2 separate regions of the Homo sapiens genome follow, and region 1 is linked to region 2. Evidence: promoter capture Hi-C in 16 types of primary human blood cells and fetal thymus (Javierre and others, 2016). All regions are on one chromosome and are shown on one strand. Each heading gives the region's core, a stretch centred on a gene start or on the middle of the fragment in contact. The rest is flanking DNA. Distances are from core to core; before and after follow the strand shown.

What was found. The method cuts DNA at HindIII sites, captures the fragments that hold promoters and counts their contacts. A CHiCAGO score of 5 or more calls a contact.
Region 1: a contact is called between a fragment that was not itself captured here and the fragment with the promoter of GIGYF2 in region 2, in 1 of 17 cell types (neutrophils). The highest score is 5.4, in neutrophils.

What each region holds. Positions count from the first base shown.
Region 1 is chr2:233,344,869-233,352,314 of GRCh38, forward strand. SAG (S-antigen visual arrestin) reads left to right here. Exons shown (of 16, transcript NM_000541.5): 15 at 1,535-1,544; 16 at 1,939-2,187. The coding sequence ends at 2,044. Among named protein-coding and RNA genes, the nearest start is that of DGKD, 5.9 kb to the right of the region's middle. RefSeq lists an enhancer at 4,633-4,732. The HindIII fragment of the contact is 910 bases long and covers 2,167-3,076 here.
Region 2 is chr2:232,695,052-232,701,680 of GRCh38, forward strand. It overlaps GIGYF2 (GRB10 interacting GYF protein 2), which reads left to right and starts at 2,280. Exons shown (of 29, transcript NM_001103146.3): 1 at 2,280-2,341. RefSeq lists enhancers at 2,087-2,783, 2,784-3,478 and silencers at 2,133-2,222, 2,253-2,582. The HindIII fragment of the contact is 8,556 bases long and covers 1-4,212 here.

The DNA of each region.
Region 1 (7,446 bases), core at 1,372-3,871, 650 kb after region 2:
GGCATCTTTACTGAATCCGAAGATGCTGATTTGATTCTTCCTTGTTGTCTACCTCTGCAAGGCTGATGGTCCCGCTTAGTGTAATTTCTTCGCTGAGCACTGTGGGCCGCAGGGTATTTCTTGCTCAGGGGATGTTTTGACAAGCTAGCCTCTCTAGGGCCCCTGTACGTAGCGACCCTCATAGACACTCCCTCCCAGTGCTGGCTTCCAGGTGGGCACCAGAGGCGAGAGTAGGGGCTCACCATCAAATCGCCGCTGTGCTCCCCAAAACTAGGTGGGCAGAAAGCTAAAAAAGTACAAAAACCATTCAAATTAATAGCAGTTAGTCTGGGGATACAACACATGTGAAAACATAACTCAACAACAACAAAATCAATATGTTAACAGAAATTGAAAACTTTGCGGCTGGGGGTTGGTCCTCAAGCTTTAATGCACACTCTAACCCTGGGGTGCTGGTGAACGTCAAGTCCCAGGTCTCAGGCCTCTGAAGCCTGACAGATGGAGGTGCCAGGGTGCACATGCTCACGGCACCCTGGCGACCCTGACCTCAATGGGGTCCCGAGGACATGGAAGGAGAAATACTTTGAAAGGCGAAGCAACTGGCTGGGCAGGGAGGCCAAGGCGGGCGGAACACTTGAGGTCAGGAGTTCGAGACCAGCCTGGCCAACACGGTGACACCCCGTCTCTACTAAAAATACAAAAATTAGCCAGGCATGGTGGTGGGTGCCTGTAATCCCAGCTACTTGGGAGGTTAAGCCAGGAGAATCACTTGAACCTGGGAGACGGAGGTTGCAGTGAGCCGAGATTGTGCCACTTCACTCCAGCCTGGGCAACAGAGCAAGATGCCATCTCAAATAAATAAATAAGAAAGGAGAAGCGACATCAGAGGGGGCAAGGCTGATCAGGGAAAGCATCCTAGAGTTGAGACTGGGGGGGTTTCATGTGAGGAGGTGAAGGCTGTGGCACATTGTAAAGGAAGCAGTGATTTAAAATGCAAGGAGAGGCCGGGCGCAGTGGCTCACGCCTGTAATCCCAGCACTTGGGAGGCTGAGGCTGGCAGATCACTTGAGGTCAGGAGTTTGAGACCAGCCTGGCCAACATAGTTGAAACCCCTTCTCTACTACAGATACAAAAATTAGCCAGGCATAATGGCGCATGCCTGTAATCCCAGCTACTTGGGAGCCTGAGACACGAGAAACTCTTGAAACCAGGAGGCAAAGGTTGCAGTGAGCAGAGATTGTGGCACTGCATTCCAGCCTGGGTGACAGAGAGAGACAGTCTCAAATAAAATAAAATAATAAAATAAAATATAAAATAAATAAAATGCAAGGAGAAAAGCTGTTCCAGTGGGAAAGGCAGGGAGGCAGGAATTACACGCAGTGATCATGAACTGCATGTATCTAGGCCTTATCTCTCAAATTGTAAAGTCACCTAAAAGGTAGACATTTTCTAGGTACAGCTATGATATAGAATTTAGACTAACAAATGTCTCTCTCTCCCTCTTCCCTGCCTCCCTTTTATTCCATGCTTACAGCTAAGGAAAGGTGAGTGAGCCTCTTGAATGTGGCCCTGATTTGTCCTATGCTCTGGGACCTTCTCCTCCAGCACAAAACCCTCTTTGAGTCTTTGCACATATCCCAAGCTCTCCTGCCGGCTCAGGAGGCACATCCGCTACTTCCCGTCTGCTCCCTAGTGCTTACGGCACGCACGCACCATTACACTGGGTGTGCTTGCTCACTCTGCGCGTGCCTTTGTTTTCTCCCATTGGTGCTAGTTAAAGGAATTTTAAACGAAGCCTTGAGGAAAATGGCGTGCCCCCATGTTCTATCATGGGGAAAACCTTGATCAGTTCCTTCGTTGCAAAAAGATCAAGGATCTTGTTTCAGTTTCAGCTTCAAAGGGCGTGCAATGATCAAAATGTTGTTTGTTTTATTTTAGTTATCAGGATGCAAATTTAGTTTTTGAGGAGTTTGCTCGCCATAATCTGAAAGATGCAGGAGAAGCTGAGGAGGGGAAGAGAGACAAGAATGACGTTGATGAGTGAAGATGTCGGCTCAGGATGCCGGAAAATGACCTGTAGTTACCAGTGCAACGAGCAAAGCCCCACAGTTTAGTCCTTTGGAGTTATGCTGCGTATGAAAGGATGAGTCTTCTTCCGAGAAATAAAGCTTGTTTGTTCTCCCCTGGGTCATGAGTTGGTTGATTTGTTGGGGAGGCTGAGTTGATGACATGACACAAGCTGCCACCATTAGGGTCCCTGGAGTGGGAGGGTTGGGGAGAGGGAGGCCAGCCTCCCACGGAAGGGCTCACCACTCCCATGAGGGAGAGAAGGCGTCTGGAAATCAATGTGCTCACCAGGTGGGGCCCTCGGTGTGTCCAGGGGCTTTCCTAGGAGTCCCAGTCTGAGCTGTTTCTCTGGAAACAGTGCCTTCCCGTCTGTCCGTCTGTCCTTCCTTCCTTCCTTCCTTTATTCCTCCCTCCCTCCCTTCCTTCCTTCGTTTCGCTCTTGTTGCCCAGGCTGGAGTGCTGTGGCGTGATCTCAGCTCACTGCAAGCTCCGCCTCCCGGGTTCACGCCATTCTCCTGCCTCGGCCTCCTGAGTAGCTGGGATTACAGGCGTGTGCCACCATGCCCGCCTAATTTTTTGTATTTTTATTAGAGACAGGGTTTCACCATGTTAGCCAGGCTGGTCTCAAACTGCTGACCTCAGGTGATCCACCCACCTTAGCCTCCCAAAGTGCTGGGATTACAGGCGTGAGCCACTGCGCCTGGCCACCAGTGTATGTTTCTAATTACCTGACCAGTCCCAACTTCCAGGCCCCTAAAGAGCCTCCTAAGTTAAATAGGGCAGAGAACATCTGTGGACAAAAATACTCTTGGTTAATGATTCAACTTTTGGGTCCAGGTGTCTGTTTGAGCTTTGGGTTGTTGGTAAAGTTCTATTCAATGCAAGAAGCAAAATCAGATTTGGTTAAATTAAGGTGGGGAGAAGGAATGTAGTGGGAGGACCCCGGTGTGATCAGAGAACTGAAGGACAAACCTGAGCTGCCACACCTGGGGTAAGCAGGAATCAGAGAAGCTTCAGGGGTCAGGGACCCACTCTCCAGGGCGGCTCTTCATGCAGCTCAGCACCATACGTTCCCAGCTCTGCGTCTCTTGGTCCCAGTGGGCAGTTATTGGGAAGGAGAATCCAACTGGCTCAGCTTTGGCTGGGAGGATCAACACCCCGTGGTCAGCGATGGCAGAGCCCAGCCCTGGAGATGGAGAGTCCCAGAAAAGGGGGTTGATTGTGAGTCACATGGGCTTACTTAGAGCGTGCTTCACTGAGACTGGGCGTGAGAGGCATAGGGGAGAGCACTCTGAGTGTCAGGGAGGAAGGTGAACTGCAGGTGGAGGAGGGATAATAGAGGTGATACCAGGGCCTTTCCTTTGTGGGGTCCCTTCCTGCCCTGAGGTACCCACCGGGCCTGCTGCTGATGGCACAGATACTGAACAGGCTCATGGCGGCCAAGGAGAGGATGGAGATGCATAGGCTCTGGTCCATCTCTGGTCCATGCTTTAAGGGAGCAGGGTAAAGGGGGGTTGGAGATTCCTCCACAGTTCAACCCACTCACAGAAGGCAGAGGGTGAGTGGGAGGGGTTCTAGATGGGGAGTACACGTGGATCAGGCTTCTGGGATGGAACATGGCGACAGAGGGCTGGCCAGGGTATGGGTTCCATACACATGAAGGTTCCCAGCATCTGGGGTTGTTCAGAAGGATTCCAGCTGTTCGGGTCCTGGAGATTGGGATTTAGATGAGGAGGCTCCACTTGGGAAGCTTGGATGGGATCCCAGACAAAGCGAGGTGTGGACCCGTGTGCTGGCTCACGCATCCTGGCATTGGGAGGAGGATTTATAATACACTAGACTACAGGTGGAAGATTGGTCCTTCAGGCTGCGAGTTAGCAGGATCAGACACAGTCCCTCGTTCTTTTTCTCTCTATGCTAAGGTAATGGTGCACGACCATTTCAACCCATGCTCCCCTCAGGGCACGCAGACAAGGGATGGCCAGGGTGGCACACTCCTCTGAGGATTCCCAAAGCTGTTCCCCATTGCACTGAGCCCTTCCCCTGTCCTCTGCCACAGCACACAGGCTGCTGTGTTTAGCTCCTGCTAGAGCTCTTGGGCTAGCCCAGGGCCTGGGATTCTGCCCTGTGGTGCCTGGTGAGAGGACCAGCCCGTTGGTTCCTGCATTGCTTGACCCCAGGACATCCTAAGTCAGGGTGGACGTTAATAAGCCCGACCTTTGGAACTACGTGGGTGAGAGAGCTGGAGGGAAGGGCTGGAAGACCAATCCCTGGAGAGCAGAGGTCAGCACAGCCCTTACCCTCCTAGTTATTTTGGTGCCAAAATGTCTCGATACGCCCTCCAGGTGCTGGCTTGTTTATGGCCTGCAGCTGGCCACGCTGGGGAGGGAGTTGGGGGAGGAAGCGAGCAGCCAGCTGCCCTGAGCAGAAAGTGGAAGCTTGGCTCAGCTCAGCCTGCACATGTGTGGGGCTGTCTACTGGCATGTAGTGTCCCTTGGTATCAGGAGGCAGGAAGTCTACGTGCAGGTTGAATGTGTGGCCCAGAGTTTTTGGGACAGATGCAGTGCAAGAAACGGGGTACAGAGCAGTTGAAGGTGCTGCATGGAGAAAGTTCTGCAACCAGCAATGAAGGGCTGGAGAAGGGGGATGGATCCCTGCTATTGATGGAGTGCCTACCTTGTGCCAAGTACTTCACATCTGACATGTAACCATTTCAGTAGTACTTATAAATCAGTAGCATCATTCATATTTCTTAGATGAGGAAATTGCGGTTCAGAAAGGTTATGTACCTTACACATAGGTCACACAGCTAGTGAGAGTCAAGGCTTGAATGCTGGTGTCCCTGAGTCTATAACTAGACCTTTGCCCACTGTATGGTGCTGAATGGAAGTAGGAGAGTTTGGTGGAGTGGGGGGAGGGAGATTAGCATTTAGGATTCAACAACAACTGCCCTTGGCCCTTGCTATTTTTTTTTTCCATTGAAATTTTCAGGCTGGGCGAGGTGGCTCATGCCTGTAATCCCAGGACTTTGGGAGGCCGAGGCGGGCGGATCATGAGGTCAGGAGTTCAAGACCAGCCTGGCCAACATGGAGAAACCCCGTTTCTACTAAAAATACAAAAAATTAGCTGGGCATAGTGACAGGTGCCTGTAATCGCAGCTACTCAGGAGGCTGAGGCAGGAGAATCGCTGGAACCCAAGAGGTGGAGGTTGTAGTGAGCCCAGACTGTGCCATTGCATTCCAGCCTGGGCAACAGAGCGAGACTCCATCTCAAAAAGAAAAAAAAAAAGAAATTTTCATTGAGAGACTTGCACATTCACATGCAGTTGTAAGGGGTAATACGGAGAGACCCCAGGAACGCTTTACCCAACTTCCTCCAGTGGCAACATCATGTAAAGCTACAGTACAATATCCCAGCGGGGTATCGACGTGGGTCCAGTCTGCTCATCTGACTGAGATCTCCACAACTGGATTTGTACTAGTGTGTGTATTCAGTTCTCTGCAATTTTGTCACATGTGTGGTTAATTCCTTTTTAGGGTGTCTGTTTTCCTACTCCTTTAACATTTAAAAAACCTTTCTTCCTTCCAGTTTCATTTCACAGGACTGAGTCGCATTTACTGATCTTTGAGGAGTAGGGCAGGTGCGGGGTGGGAGTTGGGGACATTTGGAAATGTGTATGGTGGTTTTTGGTTTTCACATGCTTGGGGACCAGAAGCTCTATGTCACATGCAGTGGAGAAATGTGCTGCTCCAAATGACAATCATGACCCTAGTTCAGGGTAAAAATTGGATGATTCCCATGTTTTCAAGTTTCCCTTTTATATTCTCCAATGTGAAGTGGTTCTTTCTGACAGGAGTTGCGCCTCTTCACTGACGTGTCACAAAGAAGAATTAGGTTGGACGTGAAGTGTGTTATTACTGCCATCTTGATATGCCCTCAAGGTGGGGTAGACTCAGGGAGCAGGCTGTCGTTAGAGATGATTCATAGTGTGACTCATTCAATAAAGAGGCACCGGAGGGAATGTGCTCTTCCAGGCCACCGCTTTGGGGGAGTTGATGTCTCAGCCCTTCCTGAGATCTCCAGGGGAACAGCGCTGTGCGCTCACCAGGAGAACAAAAAAGCTGCTTCATCATCAAAGAACATTTATGCCAGTTTTCTTTGCTTTAAGAATATAATTCTTACCAAGCCTAATCCTCTTTTTTTAAAATACACTTTTTATTTTGAGTAGTTTTAGATCTACAGAAAAGTTGCAAAGATGTTATACTGAGGTCCCCCACACCCAAAACCCCCTATTATTAACCCTTACATGAGTAGGGTACATTTGCCACACTGAGTGACTCAAATGTTGTTTCCAGTAAAATATACTTATTTCTTTCCAACTTTTATTTTAGGTCCAGGGGGTACATGTGCAGGTTTTTTACATGGGTAAATTGCATGTCATGGCGGTTTGGTGTACAGATAGATACTTTTGTCACCCAAGTAATCAGCACAATAATCCCCGATAGGTAGTTCTTCAATCCTCACCCTCCTCCTACCCGGGAATCAATATTGATGCATTATTATTAAACTAAAGCCCCATACTTAATTCTGATGTCCTCAGCTTTTACCTAATGTCCTTTTTCTGTTCTGGGATCCCATCTAGGAACCCACGTGACGTTTAGTCATCATGTCTCCTTGGCTCCTCTTGTCTGTGACAATCTCAGTACTTTCTGGTAATTGCAGATTTCCTCCTCTCCAGCCACGGTTTCTGCTTCTTAACCGTCACGTTCATGCCCTTGCCTCCTTGACTCTAAAATGATGAGTTCTGGGGCCTGGATGTCCCCTGAGCTCCTAACAGGTGTAGGCAACAGCATTTATTATTATTATTATTATTATTATTATTTTTGAGACGGAGTCTCGCTCTGTTGCCCAGGCTGGAGTGCAGTGACACAATCTCGGCTCACTGCAACCTCTGTCTCCGGGGTTCAAGTGATTCTCCTGCCTCAGCCTCCCGAGTAGCTGGAACTACAAGCGCCCGCCACCACGCCAGGCTAATTTTTTGTATTTTTAGTAGAGACGTGGTTTCACCGTGTTAGCCAGGATGGTCTCGATCTCCTGACCTCGTGATCCGCCTGCCTCAGCCTCCCAAAGTGCTGGGATTACAGGCGTGAGCCACCGCGCCCGGCCGGCAACAGCATTTTAATGGCCTCCCTATTTCTAGTCTTCTCTCCTATGGATCATTCTCTGCCCAGACACATGAGTTCCTCTGCTTTCCCAAACCCCCTTGCCAGCTCCAGTGCCCACGGGACTGAAGTCCTTGCCTCAGAGCAGGGCCGGGAGGCTACTCTGCATCCTGGCGCCGCTGCTCACCTCCCTGCCTCCCGCACCCGCCTTGCTACC
Region 2 (6,629 bases), core at 1,030-3,529:
CCACCACGCCTGGCTAATTATTATGTATTTATTTTTTTTTAGAAATGGGATCTCTCTATGTTTTCCCAAGCTATGGGGGTAGAATTCTGCAGAATGGGACTGTGAAGGGCTCCTTTGAGTTTCTGTATTTCTAACAAGTCTCCACGTGATGTTGATGCTACTGTACCACTTTGAGCGGTAAGGGTATAAAAGTCAAGGGAAGAAAGTGTTTCAGAAGGCCGGGAGCGGTGGCTCATGTCTGTAATCCCAGCACTTTGGGAGGCCGAGGTGGGCGGATCACCTGAGGTCGGGAGTTCAAGACCAGCCTGATCAATATGGAGAAACCCCGTCTCTACTAAAAATACAAAATTAGCCGGGCGTGGTGGCATATGCCTGTAATCTCAGTTACTTGGGAGGGTGAGGCAGGAGAATCGCTTGAACCTGGGAGGCGGAGGTTGCGGTGAGCGGAGATCACGCCATTGCACTCCAGCCTGGGCAACAAGAGCGAAACTGTCTCAAAAATAAATAAATAAATAAATAAAGTGTTTCAGAAAGTAGGAAGAGGCCAATCATATTGAAGACAGGGAAACACGAAGTCAAGATGAGGACTGAAAGACTCCAGTTATCAACCTGTAGGATGGGGTGTTCTTAGGGCAAGCAATAGGCAGATAGGAAAGGACAGAAGCCACATCGGTGTGGTTGATGATTGCATGCCAGGTGTGGAAATGGAGAAAGTGCATATAAACAATTCTTTGGTGCAGCTTGGCTTTGAAAGGGAACAGGGTCGCAGGAGGGAGAATTGGTGTTTTTGATTGTTTGTTTGTTTATTTGTTTTTTTCGAGACGGATTTTCACTCTTGTTGCCCAGGCTGGCGTGCAGTGGCGCGATCTTGGCTCACCGCAATCTCAGCATCCCGGGTTCAAGCGATTCTCCTGCCTCAGCTACCCAAGTAGCTGGGATTACAGGCATGCGCCACCACGCTCGGCTAATTTTGTATTTTTAGTAGAGACGGGGTTTCTCCATGTTGGTCAGGCTGGTCTCAAACTCCCAACCTCAGGTGATCCGCCGCCTCGGCCTCCCAAAGTGCTGGGATTACAGGCGTGAGCCACTGCCCGGCCGAGAATTGGAGGTTTTTGTTTTTGTTTTAGACGGAGTCTTGCTCTGTCGCCAGGCTGGAGTGCAGTGGCGCGATATCGGCTCACTGCAACGTCTGCCTCCCCAGTTCAAGCGATTCTCCTGCCTCAGCCTCCCGACTAGCTGCGACTGCAGGTGCGTGCCACCACGCCCGGCTACATTTTTTTTTGTATTTTTAGTAGAGACGGGATTTCACCGTGTTAGCCAGGATGGTCTGGTCTCGATCTCCTGACCTCGTGATCCGCCCACCTCCGCCTCCCAAAGTGCTGAGATTACAGGTGTGAGCCACTGCGCCCGGCATGAGAATTGGAGTTTTTAACATTCCATTTTAAGATGGGAGACACAAGTAATCTTTAAAGCTGACAGGAAGGATCCTGTAGGAAGGAAGAAGTTGGAGACACAGGCAAGAATGGGATGCCTAAGGATAGAGTTGCTAGATTTAGCAAACACAGGACGCCCAATTAAATTTGAATTTCAGAAAAACAACGAACAATTTTTCAGTGTGTGCCCCAAATATTGCTGGGTGTCTTGTATTTTATCTGTCAATTCCAAAATAGTTCATCTCTAGGTAAAAGGGTTATAGCCCCAGATGTCCTAGGAAGGAATCAGAGCTCTCAAGTCCTTTCCAGCTGTCCCAGTACAACACTCTGAAATGAATTCCCAGTTCTACCAGAACTGTTAACAAGTAGAGAAACTGCTTTGAATTTCAGCTTTTGCGGCTTTCCCATTCGCTCTAGGATGGCAACTGCGAAGAAAAATGCCGGACTAAAAGCTGTGGAAAAGTTCTAATTTGGAAAACCAGCCCGCAAGTGATGCAGAGGCTTTTGAACTGCAAAAGAGCTCTGGGCGTACAGGACAGTGAGTCACACGGTGCCTGGTCCGGGCCCAACCCTGGACACCAACACCACTCAACTCAAGGGCAGGTACCCGGCTGCTGCCAAGGGGTCAGCGGGAGCCTGCGCACTGCCACGGCCCCGCCCTCTTCCAACCTTTCATCCGGGTCTCGGGCAGGGGCGTGTCTGGGCAGAGGGGCGGGTGGTGGCGGAAAGGAAGGATGTCGTGGGAGACTGGAGAGTGGGGAGGGAAGCGGGAAGGGGCGGGGGCGGAGCAGGGGGCGTGGCGGAGCGGGAGCGCGGTCACGTGACGTGCGTGGCGACGTGTCGGCCATCTTGTGTTGTTGAGGCTGAGGACTGACTGGGGTTCTGAGACTCCCTGTCCCGGACCGCAGGTAACCAGCCGTTCCGTGTCGCTCCCCTGCCCGGCTCTGCTCCGCGCCCCGGCCCCGCCGCCGCGTCCCGGGCCGCCTGTGTCTCCGGTCCGCGTTCGCGCCCCTGCTCCTCCTGCCCGAGCTGGCCCGGCCGCATGGACACCCACAGGCCGCTCCGGCCGGCTTGGGCCGTCAGGCGACGGGACAGGTCAGGTGCAGGGCCGGAGGGAGCCTCCTCCTGGGCGAGGGGCGCTGAGGGCCCTGGCGCGTCACGGCCGCGAGGAGCCGAGAAGCCCCTAGGCCAGGGCCTCTTGGCATTGCGAGGGGAGCCGAACAAGGCAGGAGGGTTGTGGGGTGGGCAGTGTCAGGCCGGCTTGCTCGGAGCTGGAGGGCTCGCCTTCCTCTGCTTGCTTCTCCGCGCCAGACACCCGCCCAGTCTCGGGGTGGCCCGGTAACAGCTGCTGCGGCCAGACAGCTGCTCCTGCCGGCTCTCCTGTCCACACCTGGTCCCTGGGAGGTGCGCTCCTGCCTTCCCCACAGAGCATCTGGACGGAGGAGACTCCTTCCGTGGCGAGAGTACTGGGTCTGGACCAGGCCTGAGGCGAGGTGCAGCCACCATGATCGGAACCTTGGGACCGAGGCTGGGAAACTAGAGCCCATGGCAGCCTTGGGGACCCAAATGTTCACATCAGGTTGAAATGGGCATTATCCTTAAGTGTCAGTTTCCAAAAGCACTCTGAATACTTGTTTTGCGACTGAAACATAAATCAAGCGAACAGGGAATGGGGGCATGAAAGAAGCGGAGCGTATGACCGTGTTTGGGAAGCAATAACGTTGTTTTGCAGTTAATTATTTAGTACTGTGTTTTTTATTTTGTTGTTTTCGTTTTCCTGCAAGTCAAAGCACTTAAACACACGTAGTCTCTCTGTAAGAAAGGTAAGTATTCCAGTTTAACTTGCAAGAAATTGAGTATGGGGCTAGAAGCTGTGAACAGCTTCCTTTCTAGAGCTACATACATTGAATTAAGGCAGTTTTGATTCCCAATGTTGTGCCTGGGGAAGGTATTCTTTCTTTATATAGTATGTCCTTTTTAGAATCAAATGACTTCCTAGATTAGAAAAAAAAATTCTGTCATTCTTTCTGTACATTAATTTTGCTCCTTCTAATATTTGTAGCTTTGGCCTTATTTTGTCCATTTTGCCTAGAACACAAATACTTTCTCTTATTCATTGATGGTTTTACGTGTTTTACTAGTTGGTGTAGCAGTTTCTGATGTGCTCAAACTGGAATATGTACTTGGCTTTTACATCAGATGTTGACAACAGAAGAGGACACTAGAAAAGTATTTAAAAGTGGCACGTAACTGGAAAAATGTCACATGATGTTTCTTTCGAAATTTAACATCAAGGAATACACTGGTGATGGTAGTGCTTCACCAGAAAGGAGAGGGCTTCATGACTTTTTGGTACCTGACAGCATTTGAGACTCTTGAGGTTTGGGAGGGAGAAGGAACCATGTGCTTCCATTCATTTGTTTATTCATTCATACATTCATTTATTTGACAGATACCCTGTTGAGCACTTACTACACTGTTAAGTACTGGGAGCAAAACAGACCAAACAATTCCTGTCTGTATGGAATTCATTTCTAGACAGATAAATAGGTAAAATACTTGATGTAGTGGTAAGCGATGTGAAAGAAAAAAATGAGTCAGGGAGATAGAATAATAGGGGTTTGGGGAGGGGTTAATTTTAAGTGCCCTGAGAAGGCCTCATGGAGAAGCTAACACTGGAGGAAAAACCCAACAGAGGTGAAGGTGCTGTTTCTTTAGCTATACTGGGGTAAAAGTGCTCTAGGCTAGGGAGCAGCAAGAGCAAAGACCCGGAGACAAAAGCTTAGGAGCGATTCAGGAGTAGACTGGGAAAAGCATGGAGGCTAGCCTAGGCTGAGAGGCTAGGGTGAGTGGGAGACTGGTGGGAGATGTGTGTACTTACTGTTTGGTACTAAGATGAGATGGATTATTTGCTATCCTGAATTCTTTTTTCTTATCTCTTGTGATTCTTGGAAAGGGAAATCAGATTCTGGAAATTTGGGCCAGCAGCCAGCCTCCCCAACCCCCTTAACTCCCATCCCCATCCGCTAATTTGGAAAAATTTAGGATGCTCAGTATTTCAGGAAATTATAATGAATTATCTTTCTCAAAAGTAAACGTTTTAAAATGAGATTGATGATAAACTGCTTGAAAGTACTTTTCAAAAGCAATTGCTTTACAAGAAGGAGGCTCTTTGGAGATTTCAGGATATTTGAAAATGTAGGGAAATTAGAAATTTTCCTTTCACATTTAGACACATGATTAAGGAACATACCAGGAAGAAAGGTGGAAACAATGTATTAACTCAAATTATCCTTAATCTGGTTAGTAAAGAATTTTTCTTAATACTGTGCTGTCCAGCCCGGAGACTCTTCCTCTAATTCATGTGTATATCCTTCACATTTTACACGTGTAGAACTTTTTGTGCTGAGTTTTTTATTCCTCCACTTTTACCTTTCAGACTAGTTGTCTAGTCTGATACTTAATAGACATATTTTTTTGCAAAAAACATTTTCTGATTTCCTTCCAGTTTATCTCCATATTCTTTTTACTGAGCTTTCATAAATGTCCTCTTTCATTTTAGTTCAGCTGAGGAATTTTAATATTTTGGTTTTGAAATGCTTTTGCTGGTGAGATGCATATGTGAAAAACACTTTGGAGTAGGTTTGCCTCAAAATCATGAGAAGATGGAAATTACAAGGTCAGTGTGTGAATGCAACTCCTTGGCTAAAAGGGAGGCATAGTGATGGTAGTGATGAGGTAGTGTTTTAACTAATTGCCTTTCTTCCTCTTGTTTTTCTATTGTGTTTTTGAAATGACATTTCCAAATTATGTCTTTGATGTCATATCAGCTCATTTGTTTTCATGACTCTGCATTTTAATACTCCATATTGTCTCTTCTCTTTTTGTTGACCTTCACATTGGAAGATGACACTGTTGATAGTGATTGCTATCTGGGAGAACCTTTTTGGGTAAAAAGATTACTACTGTCGCTTTTATGATTGCCCTTCTGTAGGATCTTTGACTTGTGCCATTTTCAAATTTTGACTTTGTTTGCAGTTCTCCATTAGCTCCTGCTGATTAAATTTCCCATACTTTCTGTTTTATTCTATTTCTTATAGATTATAGTGGGACCAGTCTCATTAGGTTGAATCTACAGCCTATGTTGGTGTTAACCCAGGTCTCTTAGAGGCAAGTTAAATGTCCATTTTCCTTCAGTTTAAATTACCATGGCATATTGTTTGGTCATTGTTGTAACAGTCTGAACTCAAGCTTTTTTTCACTGCTTGATTCCCACTAGGGTTTTGTGGTGATAAAGTCCTATGGTTTTTGCATGGGAGAGTATTTAAGAATAAAAGGAAAAATATATAAAATGAAAAAGAAATAGAAGTTTAAAATAAGATAAAAAAGTCCTAGAGTTTCCATTCATTTTTAATACTTTGAAAAATTACATCTCTTTAAAACTAGAGATTTTTATTTCATGTATAAACTTGCTTATAGTTAGCATTGCAGTGTTTCTTGACCAAATATTGTTTTTACATTTTATTCATGCTCTCAGATGAATGAGAAATATACTAAATTAATTATGTAGGAATGTAAAGTGATACCTTTATTGAATTGCCTATAGTTTTGTGTGAGGTTGAAAGCAGAAAGAGGTTTGAAAAACAAAGAATGTTCTCTTAATTGACCAAACTTCATTTTATAAAGGTATTTCAAAGTATTACATACTTCCCTACTTTAAGTAAATAAGGAACACAATTTTATATTTTCTTGTTAACTATGGGGTTTCATTAAGCTTAATTATTATTATTATTTGAGATGGAATCTCACTGTGTTGCTCAGGCTACAGTGCAGCGGCCTGATCTTGGCTCACTACAGCCTGTGATAGAGCAAGACCCTGTCTCCTGGGGGTTTGGGGTTGCAGTGAGCCGTGATTGCACCGCTGCGCTCCAGCCTAGGTGATAGAGCAAGACTTTCTCCAAAAAAGACAGGGTCTTGCTCTGTCACCTAGGCTGGAGGGCAGCGGTGCAATCACCACTGACTGTAACCTCAATCTCCCAGGCTCAAGCCATCCTCCCACCTCAGCCTCCTAAGTAACTGGGATTATAGGTCCATGCCACCACATCTGGCCAATATTTTTTGTAGAGATGGGGTCTCACTATGTTGCCTAGGCTGGTCTTAAACCTCTGGTCTCAAGTGATACTCCCGCTTCAGCTT